2 separate regions of the Homo sapiens genome follow, and region 1 is linked to region 2. Evidence: promoter capture Hi-C in 16 types of primary human blood cells and fetal thymus (Javierre and others, 2016). All regions are on one chromosome and are shown on one strand. The core of a region is centred on a gene start or on the middle of the fragment in contact, and the rest is flanking DNA. Distances in the headings are between cores, read along the strand shown. Region 1 holds the start of KIF20B (kinesin family member 20B). Region 2 holds the start of CCSER2 (coiled-coil serine rich protein 2).

What was found. The method cuts DNA at HindIII sites, captures the fragments that hold promoters and counts their contacts. A CHiCAGO score of 5 or more calls a contact.
Region 1: a contact is called between the fragment with the promoter of KIF20B here and the fragment with the promoter of CCSER2 in region 2, in 2 of 17 cell types (total CD4 T cells and neutrophils). The highest score is 9.5, in total CD4 T cells.

What each region holds. Positions count from the first base shown.
Region 1 is chr10:89,700,324-89,703,023 of GRCh38, reverse strand. KIF20B (kinesin family member 20B) reads right to left here and starts at 1,434. Exons shown (of 33, transcript NM_001284259.2): 1 at 1,344-1,434. RefSeq lists enhancers at 756-1,272, 1,273-1,788 and a silencer at 1,833-1,912. The HindIII fragment of the contact is 4,302 bases long and covers 1-1,931 here.
Region 2 is chr10:84,327,167-84,329,866 of GRCh38, reverse strand. CCSER2 (coiled-coil serine rich protein 2) reads right to left here and starts at 1,278. Exons shown (of 10, transcript NM_001284240.2): 1 at 1,059-1,278. RefSeq lists an enhancer at 385-734 and a silencer at 785-1,514. The HindIII fragment of the contact is 12,289 bases long and covers 473-2,700 here.

The DNA of each region.
Region 1 (2,700 bases), core at 185-2,684, 5.4 Mb before region 2:
GTTCATATGCTCATTTTTCAATGAACAAACTACTTCCTAGCATTTCTAAAAGTGTTCAGACTTACTGTAACTTCTTGCGATTTTAGATGACTTCTACTTATACGTGGCCTTCCCAACTAAACTGGAAACTTCTTGATGGCAAGAACCTTGCCTTATACCACTCTGTATCCCCTATAACAAATTCAGCGACTTATGCAGGGATAAAGACTACCTAATGACTTAAAATAATGGTTATAAAGAAAATACTATTCCAAAAAAAAAAAAAAAAGTCGGTCCTAGTCTGTAATATTATCTTTCGTGACAGCAGGCTCCAAGACCTCATTTTTCATTTCAAAAGGCTGCTCTGACTGGAAAACTGCATATTTACCCTCTCTCCAATAAGAATCCACAATTGGAGACTTTGGTGAAAAATAGCAGAATCTGTTGCTGAATGAGGTTTCTGAATGTGGTCTACAACACAAAGCCTCAAAAAAAGTCTTCACAACTAATCGATGAGTATTTTATGTTATTTTTACAATTTAAAATCTGGAGTCTTGGACATGTAAGATAAATACACTGTTACACTACCTAACCCATAAGGCGTGAACTTCTGTAAACTAGTAGTTTAGCAAGAAATATAAGAGAACTGTGCCAGACATGCATCACTGAACCAGCGAGCGAATCGAGATGGAGAAAGCCTTCTAAACTGGGGAATGACAGCAGTCACTGTGCCACAAACTCTTCAGCCTGGCACTGCAAAACCCTAGAAGGGCAAGCCCCAAGGACCAGTAGGAGTAGTCTGGAAATAAGTGCACAGAGGCTACCACAGGGCTCCCCCCGCAAAAAGGCCGTGTTACCTACCAGCCGAGCAAACTGCTCACCTCAGAGCTTCAGAAAACTAGGTGTGGCAAAACAGGCCTGTTCCTCAACAACAACAGAAGCAACAACAATAATAATATTAATAACTGCAAACATTTAGTACCTACTGTGTGCCAGCACTAATAACTTTACACATTACCATTTAATCTTCACAAAAGCCGAAAGAAATAGACACTTCATTGCAGCCTTTTAACTGATAAGAAAACTAAGGTACAGAGAGAGATTAAATGAATTGTCTTGCGTCACTCAGCTAATTAGCAGTGGAGGCGAGATTTAAACCGTAACCGAATTAGTATGACTCATTCCTCGCTGCGTACCCCGTGTTCGCATCGCTCCGCAACCCAGTTCCTGACAGTAACCTCCACTGGGGTATGAGCCCTGTCGGAACATGTCCACATTGCCAAAGCCGTTTCCCCACCTTAGGCCCCATACATGCGCAGTCACCCACCTCCTTCCCCACACATTCCCGCGGGTCACCTCCTCACCTGCAAACTTCGCCTGACTAGCCAGACCCGCGAGCAGCACTGCGATGTTACCGTTTTCAAATTCAAACAATGGCGGCCAGGGCACCGCACTGAACGCTGGGAGTAGGTGGGGCGTCCAGAGCTCCGCCAGGGAGCGTAGCCGGCTCGCGCTGCGGGCTTTCCAGTGGCTACCGGAAGAAGCTCTCCAATATGGGGGCGGGTCTTGAAACGCGGGCAGCCAATGGGCGGAAGCAGGCGTGGGCCGCCCTGGTGCTGACGGTCTGGTTTGCCTCCCAGCTCTGCTAGCCGGGCTTTAGTAGTGCGCTTTCTCGCGGCTGTCATAAGTACCACGCTGTTGACTGGGACACCGATCTCCAATTCTGTCCTTGAGGCAATAAAGATGTGGCGAAGGCCCGAGGTGAGGCCACTGCCACTGCACTTAGTCCTGCGACTCCCCTAAGGACGGGCCGAGGAATGGCGGGCTAGCCACTTCCCAGTCCTGTCCCTACGGGGCAGAAAAAGGCTCGGCATCCCGGGATCCGGAGGGTCACTTCCCTCGCTGCATCCCCATTGTGCAACTGCCAGTCTAAAAATTGATATAGGTAAGCTTATGAATGCTAAAACTAATGAATGCAAGATGCTAAAACAAACAATTAACTGAAAGGTTGTAGGGAAGAGGATGTTAGTATCTCAAAGAATCACCCTACAGATCATTTCTTATTATAAAGGGAAAATAGAATTTTACACTGAAGAGATTTATTAGACATACCTTAACCAAGTGAAGATACTTAGCATCGCTAATATCACCCGATAGTATTTGTGCTAGAAATGTTTGACATTAATCATGAGGAAACAATCAGAAAAAAACAATGTAGAATATTCTACAAGACAACAGGCCTAGGCTCTTCAAAAATGTCAGTGTCATGACAGGAAAAAGAAAAAAACGAAGTGGAAAATTACTTTAGTCGAGAGTCAAAAGAAACCAAATGAAATTTGTGAATCTTGGCTGGTTCATAGTTTTTAAAAAAAAAAAAAAACTTCGAAAGACATTTGTGGACAACTGGGGAAATTTAAATATGAACTACATATTAGATGATATTGAATCAGTTTTAAATTGATTGCATGTGAGAATTAATTTGTGATTAAGTGGAAGAATGCCTTTGTTTTTGGAAGGCGCTTGCTAAAGTAATTAGCAGCAAAGTGTCACAGTGTTTGCGGCTTACCTTCAAAAGATATGGCAAAAAAATAGAGAAAGCAAATGTGGCAAAATATTAGTAATTGGTGAATCTAGTTGAAGGGTATAATGGTGTACATCGTACCAGTCTTGCAACTTTCTAAAATAACAGATTTTATAAAATAAAAAGAGGAGGGGGGAAAA
Region 2 (2,700 bases), core at 29-2,528:
AGCTTTCATAAATTAAGAGAAACAGTAATAAAGTCCAAGAGGAAGAAGACTGATTTCAGGCAAACACTCAGGAATATTTACATTTTTATCACATATGGATGACGGATAAGACATGTTTTGAACCCATCTTTTGCAGGAGAGCATCTTAAGTTCCTTTTGGTTAAAGAGCAGCTGCCATCTCTAAAGTCTCTAGTCTAAAAGATGATGCTTTAAAAAAAACAACTGGCCAAATGAATAGGTTCCGTCATATTTTAATGCTCAGGAGAAAAGGAATGCTTTTCATATGGCTATTTTAAAAAGCTTAAAGCTCAATTTCTCTCTTACAGGAGTGAGCTACCAACACTCTAATCTGAGACCAGAGTCCCTGCGTCAGTCATTTCCACTCCGCTAAGGCCTTGTCTGGGAGCAGCCAGCCTCATTGGTCGGGGAGCCCACACAGATGAATATGCAATTACTGAAATGGAAACAAGCTTCGCCACCAAGGACCACCACAAAGGAGTCCCTTCATTCCTCCTTTTACTTTATCAAGAAAGTAGGTGCATTATTTAAAAATGTATGAAAATACATGTCTAAAGACAAGAGAGAAGATCTGAACCTACGGCAACGGTGTGCCCCACCAAAGTTTCACCTCAGGATGTGTTTTAGGGTGTGTCTTTCATTTAGCCCAGTAATTGAAAGAAAAAAAAAATCGAACTCATTCGGGGAGCCCCGGTACTTTCCCTATCCACCCTCACACGCAACCAGGCTCCGAAATCAGAGTGCCTCAGCCTCGCCCTGATTTCTCCTGAAAGGCGGCGGCGCCCGCGGCCCGAGGCCCCGCGCTGTCACAGCCGCAGGGAGGGCGCCCTCCGGCCTCCCGGGTCCGCGCCCGCCCCGCGTCCGGCGGCTCGCGAGGGGCTAGAGAGGCTCACCCTGGAGGCCGGGTACGGGAGGGCGACACCGCCTCAGCCCGGGAGTTCGGGCCTCCGCCCCGCCCCGGACTGCGTGCCTGGTCTTGGGCTGCCCCCGGCGCCCGCCGCGACCCCGGCCCCGGCTCTGGCCCTGAGCCCGGATCTCACCGTGCGGAGGTCGCGCTGCCTCCTCGGCCGCGGCCCAGCTGCAGGCCGCCCTGCGACCTGCGGGCCCGAGGACGGAAGGTGAGACGAAGGGCCGCCCGTCACATCCCCGCCAGCCCCGCCGCCCGAGCCGCAGCAACCAGCATCGCGTCCGCGGCCTGAGGGAGCGCCGGACTCCAAAGCCGCCGCGCCCCCTCCCTCGGCCGGCGCCCGCCCGGACTCCGCCCTCCAGGGCCGGCGCACCGCGCACGCGCAGTCCCGCCCCGCCGCGGGCCCGTGCGCAGGCGCGAGCCTCACGGGGCTACGGGGACCGCCCCCACCGCCTGATCCGGCCTCAGCCCACCTCTGGCCCCGCCCCGCCCTCACGCCAGGCTTTCCCAAGCTCCGCCTCCGCTTCGGGCCCCGCCCCCTCCACTGACCTTGCCTGGCCGCCTCCTGACTCAGGTTTTTGCTGGGCCCACGCAGTGACGCCAGTCTTGCGGCTGACCTCACCTCTAGCCGTCCCCTGGACTACATTTGCTGCTTGAGTGCGGTCAAACCTGACAGCTCCTCCTCCTGGATGTGAAAAGTGAGGAGTGGTCTGAGCATTGGGCATGACTGAACCACGCACCTGCCTACCGCATCAAAACACAGGATCTTGCTAAAGCTGAGGGGAAGGGGCACCCCAAGTGCTGATCTGGTTTTCCCTTTTTTTTTTTTTTTTTGAAACAGAGTCTCGCCCTGTCACCCAGGTTGGAGTTCGGTGGCGCTATCACAGCTCACTTGCAGCCTCCTGGGCTTAAGCGATCCTCTCGCCTCAGGCGTGTATCACCAAGCCTCCGAAATAATTACAACTAAGACCACACTAGTCAAAGTAAACTATCACAAGTTGACCCAAATACCCGGCTAATTTTTATTTTTTCTTTTTAGAGTTGGGGGAAGTGGTCTTACAGGCTAGTCTCAAACTCCTGGGCTCAAGCAATCCTCCCACCTTGGCCTCCCAAAGTGTTGGGATTACAGGCGTGAGCCACAGCTCCTGGCCAATGTGGTTTCTTTGCCAGAAACCAGGTCTTTCTTCCCTTTGGGGCTTCCATCCCCCAGAGGCCATCTCTTCCCCTCTTGTTTTTCCTCGACGCGGCCAGTCCTGCTGCTGAGAGTCCTCAGCCTGGAAGGCTTCCGGGCCTGGCCGGCTGTTTAAAGCTCTGGAGTTGCCCTTACCTGGTTGTAGACTTGCAGTTCTCTGAAATCCTCGTCGGCCCCAACAGCTCGGTTGTAATAACATTTCAGGAGAACTGCTTGAAAAATATCCAGTTCTTTCCTGTCTCCAGATCAATGATACTCAAATGGAAAAAGCAGACGGAATGCCTGATTTGTATAACCACACTTCATTTAATAATACACTTTCATATTTAGAAAATAATGTCTTTTAAATATCAATCCCTAAGATATTTAATGTATTGGACAATAATGTGTGCTTAAAATATTGACAAAGACTAGGTCTAAATGCTGTGCAATCTCTCTTTGGATTAAGTGAGATTAGAAAAGCAAACACCAGGCCGGAGGCGATGGCTCAAGCCTGTAACCCCAGCACTTTGGGAGGCCAAGGTGGGAGGATCACAAGGTCAGGAGTTCAAGACCAGGCTGGCCAATATGGTGAAATCCCGTC